Linked DNA regions of Homo sapiens: region 1 is linked to region 2. The links are contacts of gene promoters, found by promoter capture Hi-C in blood cells and fetal thymus (Javierre and others, 2016). All regions are on one chromosome and are shown on one strand. The core of a region is centred on a gene start or on the middle of the fragment in contact, and the rest is flanking DNA. Distances in the headings are between cores, read along the strand shown. Region 1 overlaps G2E3 (G2/M-phase specific E3 ubiquitin protein ligase). Region 2 holds the start of STRN3 (striatin 3).

The links. Contacts are between HindIII fragments. The CHiCAGO score rates a contact against its expected background, and 5 or more counts as called.
Region 1: a fragment that was not itself captured here is called in contact with the fragment with the promoter of STRN3 in region 2 in 1 of 17 cell types (neutrophils); the score reaches 5.0 in neutrophils.

What each region holds. Positions count from the first base shown.
Region 1 is chr14:30,606,328-30,612,683 of GRCh38, forward strand. G2E3 (G2/M-phase specific E3 ubiquitin protein ligase) reads left to right here. Exons shown (of 15, transcript NM_017769.5): 12 at 1,561-1,742; 13 at 5,880-6,052. Among named protein-coding and RNA genes, the nearest start is that of SCFD1, 13 kb to the right of the region's middle. The HindIII fragment of the contact is 1,846 bases long and covers 2,929-4,774 here.
Region 2 is chr14:31,021,335-31,027,794 of GRCh38, forward strand. STRN3 (striatin 3) reads right to left here and starts at 5,045. Exons shown (of 18, transcript NM_001083893.2): 1 at 4,570-5,045. The coding sequence starts at 4,851. It overlaps AP4S1 (adaptor related protein complex 4 subunit sigma 1), which reads left to right and starts at 4,315. Exons shown (of 6, transcript NM_001128126.3): 1 at 4,315-4,453. RefSeq lists enhancers at 3,994-4,093, 4,164-4,273, 5,384-5,543 and silencers at 4,263-4,444, 4,584-4,843, 4,934-5,253. The HindIII fragment of the contact is 12,759 bases long and covers 4,380-6,460 here.

The DNA.
Region 1 (6,356 bases), core at 2,602-5,101, 420 kb before region 2:
AGTGGGTAATTCTGGCATTCTCTTTTAGGGGCTTTTATACTACTTTTGCTGTAATAGGAAATTTGAAAGAAAATGAGAAGGCATTTCATTTCATTTGAATTTCCTACTATATTTTCTGTAAACATCCTAACCATTGCCTAAAGCATCATTTTTACTCTGTATAGTTCACACAGTTTAATTATAAACTCCCTTTAAAATAAAATGTAAAAATAAAGAAAAAACTTTCCAAATAGTAATGTTAACTCAAGGCAGCTTTGGTATGGTGGAGAGTACGTGAATTTAAATCACAGAATCTGAATTCAAGTTTGTACACATCTAGTTCTTTACATCCTTAATTACTTACTCTCTCTGGATCTCAGTTTCTTCATCTGTAAAATGTGACTATGAATATGTAGCTTGTAAGGTTATTACACAGGTATTGTTAATGTCACTTATTAATAAGTTGCTTTCAACAATTTAAAAATTAAGGAAAAATTTACTTGTTTTGGCACATCAAAGTTGCTAATACATTTGAAATGACAATTTTAATTCAAGCTCTGACAGTAAGGTAAGACAGCATATACTGTTGGGAGTAAACTTGTGCCTTTGGGAAAGATTATTTAGTGATATAGATCAAGAACCTTAAAAATGTTCCTATCCTTTGACCTACTAATACCATCTGTAGGAATCCTAATCAAATAAATATAAACAAGAATATGTGAGTATGTTGACTGTAACATTATGTCTCATAAAGTTAGAAATATCACTTAGCCAGGATAGCCAGGGGGATGGTTTGCATTATAGTACATCTCTAAGTTAGTCTAAATGCATTTATTAACTGTAGATTTGAGTAATTTTGAGTAGTATGATAAAAAGTTTACAATATAATAAGTGGATAAAGCATAAGTCAAACTTTTTATATTTATATACACAAAGAGGTACAAGTACAGTCATTTGTCACTTAGTAACAGGGATATGTTCTGAGAAATGTGTCAGTAGGCAATTTCATCATGCAAAGATCATAAAGTATACTTACGCAAACCTAGTTGGTGTAGCCTACTACACACCAAGGCTCTATGGTAAAGCCTATTGGTTCTAGACTGCAAACCTGTATAACATGTTACTGTACTGAATACTGTAGACAATTGTAACACAATGGTAAGTATATGTATATCTAAATATACAAAAGGTAATGCATTGTGCTATGACAGTATAACATCACTAGGTCATAGGAGTTTTTCAGCTTCATTATAATCTTAGGGACCACCTTAGTGTATTTGGTCATTCTTGACCACAACATCCTTATATGGTGCATGACTGTACACCAAAGTGTTCACAGTGGTTATTATGGTGGTAGGTTTATTGTGTTTTATGTTTTCTACAATAGATTTTTACTTTATATTCAGAAAAATGTGTCTTTTTTTATATTTTAGGTAAGATCTATATTTTCTACATAATGATAGCTTCTAAGAATTATATTTATCTAATGCTTAGATTTTTGGACTAATTTTTAATATAAAAAATGATGGTTATCTTATAATAATAGAAGTGTATTTGATATATTTTCATCTGTATTTACAGCTCTGAAAGAGAATCTTTACTATGAAGCTGGCAAAATGCTTGCCATTTCTTTAGTTCACGGTGGTCCTTCACCTGGTTTCTTTTCTAAAACCTTGTTTAACTGCCTTGTTTATGGACCAGAAAATACCCAGCCAATTTTAGATGATGTTTCAGACTTTGATGTGGCACAGATTATAATCAGGGTAAGCAATGTATCTGTTTATTAAAATGCACACTACATTCTAGGTATCTTTTAATGTAAATGACTGATCTGCAATAAAATAATAGTATTATCTATGAAGGAGTTAGGGATTGTAAACATATATTTCTGTTTACCAGTGGAGTTCTGAACCAGTTAAAAGATAGTTTTAAAAGTCAGATGGCTGGAGATTAAAGTGCCACGTTTAATGTTGGTAAAACCAGTTGGATAATGTGATTTTGGTCTGTGTTCACCATGGCTTGTGAATACTCCTCAGAAATACATGGATTTGCCTGCCTTGCTAGAGACAACGTGAGGCAGATTCCCTATTGCAAGCTAGAAAGCAGATGAAAGTGCACTTTGATGGAGGCCGATGGGTCTGAAGAGAGGAAGGATTTGGCTTACCAGTTAGAATACTTTTCCTTCCTTCTATAGGGAGGTATGAATGATAGATGGAGAGAAAGACTAGGCTGAATTTCTTCCAAAGGGAAACAAGTGGTAGGGATCGGGGAGGACTTAATGCGTCCGCCTAAAAATAGTTCATTTATTCAGCACTTATAATGGGACCTGTACTAAACATGTCACATGTGCAAACACTCATTTATCATAATGCCATATAAGTGTCATTGCCAACATGTTACTGCTTTAAAAACTGAGACAATGCAAGCCATTTAACTTTTCTTCCTTAACCTCCCTCCTACTTAAGCATATTCTATCCATTGTCTCAATTAACAGGCAGTGTTGTTTAATGATTAAAAGCATAGGCCTTAGCCAGGCGTGGTGGCATGTGCCTGTAATCCCAGCTACTCTGGAGGCTGAGTCACAAGAATAATTTGAATCCGGCAGATGGAGGTTACAGTGAGCTGAGCTCACACCACTGCACTCCAACCTGGGCAACAGAGGGAGACACTGTCTCAAAAAAAAAGCACAGGCTTGGAAGTCAGATTTTACTTTGAATGCCAACTCTTATAACTACTATATGTTGTGTCACTTTGGGCATATTAATCTTACTAAACCTCAGTTTCTAAATCACACAGTAAGCACTATTGAAGTGTGAGTTGCTACAGTGTATTACAACAATTCTGTTTATTTGCCCTAAGACTGCTTATCCTAACATCATGTTTTAAATTGACCCTTTAATTCTTCGTTTTTCTTTTTGTGCCCTCTTTACTAAAAAAAAAGTATATTTAAGCTTCATTGTCTCTACTTCGTATTTCCTATTTATTTCTTGTAATCAGGCTTCTGTCCCTACCACCAGTCTCAAGTTAGCTAGTTCATAGTTTATATCCAGGGAGCTAAATATCCATGTCCAAAGGCCTTTTCTAATTTTTCATCTGCTGTGACTTCTGCAATTACCACTTAGAATTTCTCTGCAATATTTTATTTAATATTGTACTTCCTCCTACTTCTGATGATTCTCTCTTCTTTAATGCTTCTTACTTCTTCTTACCCCTGAAACTTAGCATTTTTCAGTGTTGTCTTAACAGTCATCATTCTTTATTATTTGGAGAGCTTCTTCTCTCCTGTAATCTTTCTGAATGATTTACAGACCTGTATTTTTGAGCCCCCGGACTTTTATATACAGATAAGACCTGGGTCTTGCTAGCACATTGAGTCTAACATGTTTAAGATAAAAATAGTATTTTTCCCAGAATTTTTTGTTTGATTGTTTTTTGTGGGGCTTTTTTGTGTTTTTACCTGTTTGCCTTTTCTTTCCAAGAGACTTCTTACTTCCAAGCTGTCTTGGAGAGTCATTTTCATACTCCTCCATTTTCCAGTTATATGTCAAGTCACCTGCCTCTAAGACTGACTTATTGTCAACCTTTCCTTCCTGTTTCTAGTGTGCCTATTTTACCAAACTCAAATTTTCCCTAGGCTTAGACAATTAGAATGTTGTTCTAATATTCTTATTTGGGATGATTCTTCCAAAAGTACAGTTTTGACCATATTGCTTTCTTCCTCAGGAATCCCCCAGTGGCTTCTCATTGCCTGTTGAACGAAGTTGAAGCTCTTCATTAGGGCATTTAAGACCTTCACCTCTCTTCATGGCTTTATCTACTCCAGTTTCTGTACTTTTTATCCAGTGTTTGTTCATTTATTTAAGAAATACTATGTATTCTGTACTGTTTTGTTACTAAAGATAGAGTAGTGAAGCAAAGTATCTGCCTTCTTGGAATTTACATTAAGAGAGAACACAGAAGATAAACAACAAATGTAATATGCCATCACGTAGTAAAATGTATTATAATGCTAAATAAAACAGAATATGGCCGGGCGCAGTGGGTCACGCCTGTAATCCCAACACTTTGGGAGAACAGGTGGGTGGATCACCGGGGTCAGCAGTTCGAGACCAGCCTGGCCAACATGGTGAAACCCCATCTTTACTAAAAATACAAAAAAATTAGCCAGGTGTGGTGGCGCGCGCCTATAGTCCCAGCTGCTTGAAAGGCTCGCTTGAGCCCGGGAGGCAGAGGTGGCAGTGAGCCGGGATCATGCCACTGCACTCCAGCATGGGCAACAGAGTGAGACTCCATCCCAAATAAATAAATGTATACATAAATACATACATGCATACATACAACAGAATAAAAGGAGATGGATAAGGGTTGGAGTATATACAAGTTAGGTTTTAGGCTAAACTTCTGTATCTCATAGACCCAGAAAGACAGTGGCTCAAACAAGGCAGATGTTTACTGTTCTGTAAAATCCATTGTCTAGATTTTAGGGTAAGAGTTGGCAAAAAATGGCCTGTAAGTCACGTTCTGGCTTGTTGCCTGTTTGGTAAATAGTTACATTGGAATGCAGCCATGCCCATTTGCTACTGATCTGACTGCTTTCACGCTACAGTGGCAGAGTTGAGTAGCTGCAACAGATACCATATAGTTTGAAAAGCATAAAATGCTATCTGGCCCTTTATACAGATGGCCCTCTGTTTTCGAGATAGAGTTGTGATTTACAAAACCGTCTAAGGACTTGAGTTCCTTCCTCTCATTATCGTGTAACACTTAGCATTATTGTTTGCATCCACATGGTTGAAGCTTGCTCTTAAAGGAGAAAAGTGGAAGTTGAGAGCAGGGAAGTTTGACATGTTGTTTTTACTTACATCCCATTGAACAGTCATGTAGCCCCACCTAGCTGCAGCAAAAGTTTGGCTATGTGCCCAGCTGAAACTCAGGGTTGAGGGTTTGCAGGGATGAGGCAACATATACCCAATTATTACTCCGACAGGGTGTAAAGATAGTATTTTGAGCAGAATAGTCATGAAAAACTTAGGAGATTTCAGCAGAGATTTTGAATGAATGAAAAGAAGTCATGTAAATCTCTAAGAATGTTTTAGGAAAAGGAAATTGCAAGTAAATTTTCTGTTAATGGATTGTTTCCTATTTTTAACTTTCTCCATCTGTACCTTTAAGAGCTAACCTGTATGAAAGTGTCTTGCACATAAATGGCCAAGTATTTCTTTGTTTATGCTGTTCACTAAAATATTCTTGATAAAATTCTGTCCATCTTTTAATTCTCAGCTGTTACTCTTTTTCATGAATTCTCAGGTCATCTTTCTTGCCTATCTAGTACTAGGTAACTTTTCTCTTTTTTTTTCTTTTCTTTTTAAGAGATAAGGTCTCAGTCTGTCACCCAGGCTGGAGTACATTGGTGTGATCATAGCTCACTGAACCTCCAACTCCTGGGCTCAAAATCCTTCTACCTCATCTTCCAGAGTAGCTAGGACTACAGGTGTATACCACCCACACCAGGCCTTTTTTTTTTTTCTTTAGAGGGGGGCTAGCTGTGTTGCCCAGGATGTTCTTGAACTTCTGGCCTCAAGCAGGCCTCCCACCTCAGCCTCCCTAGTAGCTAGTCTTACCTAGTGCTATATAATTTTTCAATGTCAGTTATTTCCTTTTTTATAAATAGTTTCACGTAGTAAAGTGGCATTATACTCTGGATTTCTTGAAGGCAGAAATAGACAAATTTGTTGAACTGGATGATCAGACATTTATTCTAGAAGAATATTTCTTGGTTTACTTTTACTGCACCCATATGTACTAAGAAATTTGAGTATAAATTAACAAGTATCATTTGAAATGTGCATGTCACTCAAAAGTAAATGAGTAAAGTGGCTGTATTTTCTCCTTCATTACAGATAAATACTGCAACAACTGTAGCTGACTTAAAGTCAATAATAAATGAATGCTATAACTACCTTGAGTTAATTGGATGTCTCAGACTTATAACGACATTAAGTGATAAATATATGTTAGTAAAAGACATACTTGGCTACCATGTAATTCAGAGAGTCCACACACCCTTTGAAAGGTAAGTTGTTTCTATTAATATATGGCTCTTTCAAATTACATGTTTAAAGTGGTTAATTATCTTGTAATGTGAGATATATTTGGTAATAAGTGAGATGTTTTTCTCAGAAAAAAATTTAAATGCTATTTTTAAATAATAACTTAAGCCTTTTTAGGATGGTTACTGTTCTGATCATTTAATAAGCATTGTGTAGGTCGGGCATGGTGGCTCACTCACACCTGTAATCCCAGCACTTCGGGAGGCTGGGGCAGGCAGATCATTTGAGGTCAGGAGTTTGAGACCAGCCTGACCAACATGGTGAAAC
Region 2 (6,460 bases), core at 3,795-6,294:
CATAGATTACTTAACCTTTGGGCCTCGATATGCCAGTGTCAGAAAAAATAAAAAAAAGACACCAATTATACCTGTATCAACCTCACTGAGTTGTTTTGAGAATTAAATGAATACTGAATGAATTAAATGAATACTGAAATACTGAAGCACTGAAATAACAATTAGGAAAGAGTAAATAAATGCTAGGTATTATTAAGATGGTACATGGTAGCTAAAAATCTGATTCTGAATATACAGTGAGAACATAAAATAGAACCAGAACCCCACATAATAACAACTGGGAACAAAAGAAAGAAAACATATGAAGAAAAGTGATAAGTGGATGACAGGAAAAACAGAGCGGAAGCAAAAGAAAACAGTTTTGAAGGATTTGTTAACAACAGAGTGTTGGTTAAGTACATACGGTTTATAAGGCCAAAGGATTTGGCAATTTGAAGGTCAATCATGAACAGAAAACATAGTGTTCTACGAAGTGTTTAGAAGGGAGGAGAGAAGAAAGCGAAAAGGCAGACTACAGAGTGGGGTTAATGGGTAGTGGAGGAGCATAAAGAGAATTCTAGATCAGTGGTCCCTAAACTTCATTTCAAGGGCTTCAAAAAGAAACAGGGAATCTGACACAAGGTAGTGGACTCCCTTAATACTATCAATAAAATTTTTTTAACTATTATCACCATCATCTGAAAAAGGAAATGCCTAACAGTAAAAATGTATGAAGGCTAAAAATCCCAGAACAAAGGGAACACCTTTATGAAAAATCACTGTCGGCCGGGCGCGGTGGTTCACGCCTGTAATCCCAGCACTTTGGGAGGCCAAGGTGTGCAGATCACGAGGTCAGGAGATCAAGACCATCCTGGCTAACACGGTGAAACCCCATTTCTACTAAAAATACAAAAAAATTAGCTGGGCGTGGTGGCAGGCACCTGTAGTCCCAGCTACTGGGGAGGCTGAGGCAGGAGAATGCCGTGAACCTGGGAGGCAGAGCTTGCAGTGAGCCAAGATGGTGCCACTGCACTCCAGCCTGGGCGACAGTAGAGCGAGACTCCATCTCAAAAAAAAAAAAAAAGAACATAAACTCTTTGACTACATTTTCTTGTATTAGCTATGTCATATTTTTACACTTGGCAAACAAGCATTTTGTATATACCCAAAATCCACTTACTACATACAAACTATAAAGAAAAATATAAGGACACATTAGCAATATATATAAACTATGCCTTGCAGCAGCATCACAGGCGCTCAATAAAACTTTATTGAAATGTACTCAAGTGGTGTGGGCCACGCAATACTAGATGAAGAATTACAAGTCAGATTCCACTCTATAAAAAAGAGCTAAGACAGTATAACATAATGGTTACAAGAGTGGTAACATGACTACAGGCTTTGGAATCAGACAGACTTGGGTTCAAATCTCAGCTGCAATACTTTATGGCTAGGTGACCTTGGCAAAATGATTTAACCTACCTAAATTTGTCTCCTCACCTGTAAAACAGGAATACTCACCTCATGAGGTTATAGTGCTGATTAAATGGCAGTTTCTAACTTTTAGAAGTCGTAACATGATAGATGTTGCTGCTTAAAGATCCTTAAGTTAGTAGGAGATATTTTGCTTAGACTTACTTGATTTCTTCATTTTTAAGGGGGGAATCTCCTGAATTTTCCATTTTCAGGGTTTTCAAAAGCTGGTCTGGAATAGTAATTTGCAAATCCTAGTGTCTTTTCCATGACAAGATTTTAATGAATCTACTATGAAATTACAAAAAAGAAAAGTGTAGTGTAGTAATTTTTCTCTTTAACAGGCACTACTGTGAAGAAAGAATCACTTGTAGAACTCTAAAAAATATGCAGGCCTCTTATCCTCTGGAGATCTGGATTGATCTAGGGCTTGAAGAAAATGGACTGTCTGTGGAATTTTGGTAATTCATGTTATATAAAAGTTAAGAAACCACTGTCCTATGACCTTACTAACAATGCTTTACCTGAGTCTAAGGTAAGGAAGAATCAGAGACAGAAGAGCTTTAAGATGTGATCCTTTAGTTTGGTTCCAAGTTTCTAAGACAGACCTTTACTCTAAATTCTTTTTACAGAGAACAGAATCATACTGTAAAGTTCCTTTTAATATCTTTCCCAAAGCCAGGGAAAATATTATTCCCCATTAAAATTTTACATCAATATGGGGTATTCCTTAAGCTCTTCACGTTCTCTATTGAAACTATTCAATAATTAACACTTTAAAAATCTGTGTACATGACAGTGCACTGGAGACTGTACATAATAATATGTAAGTTGTCTTATTTCTAGATTGTCTTTCTTAAAAATAGGTTTAAGTTTACAGTAAAAATCCACTGATGCTTCACTACACCCTCCCACAAATATGTATTCAACACATACATTTTAAAATACGCATCTCACAAGCAATCTCAGTAGACTGAAGGCACCTAAAGCAAACTAGAAACCTTATTAAGTTAACCCAATAAAACATTTTAAATATATAACTCAAAAAAAAAAAAACCAACGCCATCATGAACATTTTATTCCAAAAGAATCAGTATGAAATAAAAAAGAGTCTAGAAACACTGTAGGACTTCTTCAAAACAAGGAAACAAACAAAAACTTAGGATGGCTAATAACAGTACTGTACCAATAGAATTGAAAGCAAGCAAGCAAGCAAAAGGAATCTACCTTAAAACACTGCTGCTGCTGTTAAGGAGACCTAGAAGGGAAAGCAAATGCTAGAGCAGGCAATAAAGGCTTCTTTAATATATAGTATAGGTTTTACTAATTTGGGCACAAGATATCTTTCTTCTCAGCTGCTTACATTAGTGAAGTTTATGGGTGAAAAATGCAATTGCTAACTTGAAGAGTGTTGAAATCCAAACTTGCATACAACAGTACAAAGGTCTAAGAAACCATAGCAGGGACTGGTGAAGTATTATTTAGTGAGCTTAGGCCTTACTGCATTTGTCAATCCAAATTTTAAAAACAAATGCCTTACTTACTTTACTCACACAGAAAATTAAGTTTGCAGTATGTAGTAGAAAGCTGTATACCAACAGAATTCTATAAATTTTAAGTATGTTAAAGCAGACTGTACACAACTTAAACCAGTTTTGACTTCAGCTTTTTTAAAGTTATGTAATTTTAAAGCCCAATATTATATCAAAACACAATTGTAAAGCACTGAAATGACTAACAAGTGTTACTTTTTTTTAAGACTTCATACAGTGTCAAAATACCCAAGTATTTTTTACTTTTGAAAAGTTTAACTTCACCCACTTTGTGGAGTCATATAAAAGTTTACTAGTTCAGAACCAAACTAAAGAGATGCATATTTGAGGACACCCTTTCTAGTTAATCCAATCCTCCTCCTTTCAGCACTACATTTGCCTAACGATTCACCATAGGCATATGACATATATGACAGCAAATACTGCTTACCCCCTAAATACACAACAGTCTGAAGAACAGGTGCAATACTATTTAGACACACGCTTTTTCCTTCTAAGCCTAAATTTGCCCTGGAAAGGTATTTAAAAATAAACACAAATACCCAAGAAAGTTAAATAACCCTTTCAAAAAGATGCAGCAATTTTGAGATCCAGGACATGAGCTGTTAACTACCAACAGCTTCCAAATGTGCAGCCTATCAAAGGTTCACATTATGAGGATCGAGTCAAGCTCAACTATGAAGGGTTCCGAGAACATCTCACTTTGCTTCTCCTGCAAGAGTAAGTAACATGATATAACTACGTTTCACTTCAAGGGAATATTAAATCTCTTCAGTCGTTTCATAAATACAGCATCGATCGTCTGGTTTGGTTTTTTTATAGATAAAGAAACGGATGGGGGAAAGGAGATCTAGTGGAGAGTACTGTAAAAAGAAAAATTCAGTGCTGAAAGCGTTGATGAGTCACTAAGTAAGGAATAACTACAGAGAATCCAAGTGAGTAAGGCAGCATCTCAGGTGAGAAAGTACTTAAAGTTGACGATGGGAAATAAAACTTCACAGGTCAGTCCCAAGTCACTGTGCACCCTAGCAGCCCAGGAAAGAAGCGTGGCTGTCAAGGGGCAAGCGCGTACCAAGTCTGAGGGAGGGGGCCAGATACGCCAAATCGGAAAGGGGGGTGGTCCGGAAAAGGGGGGTAAGATGCCTATCCTAGTCCCTCTCTTCGGGCTCTTCATCTCAAGAGGAACAAACAAGAGCAAACTCAGTGTTGAGAGGCCCCAAACCGGACTCTCCCACAGAGAGGTGCTCGGTCCCAAGCCCCGGAGGCCCGGGAAGGCCGCCTCCGGAGGAGCCCCCGCAGACGCCATACTAAAAGCCAAAATGGCTGCCCCGAGGAGGCCCGCACCGCGTAGCCAGTGAAGGTTGGGGAGCAAGCTTATGCGGGAAAGAGGGAGGGGGACTCCAGGAAAAGCCGTTGAGAGGACCATCACAACCTGAGCAGCACAGGTAGGTTCCGCTCGGCCTCCCAAGGCGCCGGCTCCGGCTGAGTGGAGTCCCCAGCCCCACCCCCCGGCCGGGAACCCAGCCGCCGCAGCTCCCGCACACCGACCCCAACGAGGTACCTGCAGTTCGGCCCGTTCCACCTCCCAGTGCGCCCGCTCCATCTCGAACCGAGCCCACTCGTGCTGGATGTAGTGCAGTATCCCCGGGATAGTGTACTGCTGCGGCCGGGACAGCTCGGGGCCTGCCGCGGGACCCGCTCCCTCGGAGGCCGGAGGACCCCCGCCGCCCGCCGCTCCGTTCCCCCCGGGCGAAAGGCCCAGGTTCCCCCCAGGTCCCTGCTGCTGCCGGGGAGGGGCCGCCATCCCCGGGCCGCCACCACCGCCTCCGGCAAGCTCGTCCATTGTGTGTGGGGCCCCGGCCGGGGCGCAGGGCGAGACGCCGACAGCTGGGGGAAGGGCCGGAGAGGGTGGCCCCGCGCTGGCTGCGGGGCGGAGGCCGGCCGGGAGAGGGGCGGGGAAGGGGTCGTTGCTGTGTGCCTGCCGTGGGTCAGAGCAGGGAGCTGCCGGCTGCCGCCATTACAATCCCTCCTCCATCTGCCCGTCTCACTCACTCACTTTAGGGGAAGGGGGGGCCTCGGCGGGAGGGGTGGGGGGAGAGTTGGGAAGGGGATAGGCGGAGGGCCGTCACTAGCGCACAGCATGCTGGGTAGCGAACGCAGCCTCACGCTTAATCGCCAAATAGAGTCCGGCCTCACCCTACGCCGGCGCACTGAGAACGCAGCCCGGGTCGCCGTTAGAGGGCGGGGAAAGAGCTCGGGCTCCGCCCCTAGGCCCGCCCTCAGACCCGATCCGGTGTCTGGCCGCAGCTACCGGACACCTGGGCTCCGACTCTGACTTTTGGAAGCGAGGCGGCCTTAGGCTTCCTGGTTATCAGTTTCCTTTTAGCAGGCCGTCCCCGGGCGCTGTTTCCTTCCCAGGGGTCTCTCACCCGTGTCCCGGCTTTCTGAGCTGGTTGTTAACCTGGCTGGTCGCTCTGGCCGACCGCATCCCGTCTCGGATTCCTGACGTTTCTTTTTCATTCTTTGAGTGTTTCAGGCAGTCCCAAGGGTGGGCCCTCTTTCCCTTCCTGTCACTCGCTCTGCCTCTGGTTTCTTAGAACCAGTCAGTTCTCTGCTGGCAAATAGCCAAGATCCTCCGGCTGTGGTTACTGATTCCTCGTCTCTGTCTTGAGCCTGGGCTTTGGTCCCATTTCTATGCGCTCGGTCGCCCGTCGTAACTTATTCCACTTTGCGTCCCCTCTTCTTTCCTTTTCTGGAATGGGTTGTGGGGGGGTTGGGAGAGGGGGAGGAGCGATTTTTTTTTTCTTGGGAGAAGAAGAGGTAGTGAATTCCTTTAGATCTTGACGATGATGGGTAGAGGGAGAGAAGTTTGAAGGAGACTGGCTAGACTAACAATTTGATACGGTAGAAATGAATGGGCTCACAAATATTGTCATCAATAGACTATTTTGATCGAAACAGAAAATAAAAGCACTGTGAGTACAACTTAAAATCCTAGATGAATGTTCTCCTGGGTCATTAAATGTTTAAGTGAATATGGCCGGGCGCGGCTGCTCAAGCCTGTAATCCCAGCACTTTGGGAAGCCGAGGTGGGCGATCACTTGAGGCCAGGAGTTCGAGACCAGCTTGGCCAACATTGTGAAACCCCATTTCTACTAAAAATACAAAAATTAGCCGGGCATGGTGGCGCACACCTGTAGTCCCAGCTCCTGGGGAGGCTGAGGCACGAGAATTGCTTGAGCCCAGGAGGCTGAGGTTGCAGAGAGCCGAGATCGCACCACTGCACTCCAGCCTGGGCGACAAAGCGAGACTCCGTGTCGGCAAAAAATTTAAAAAGTTTGAGGAATGTAACATATACATAAGAGACAAGGCTAATATTTTAAGTACAATAGTGGGTACTTTTATGTGCTTAGTTTCCTAGAAAATATCCTAATGCACTAGTGTGTTTCTAA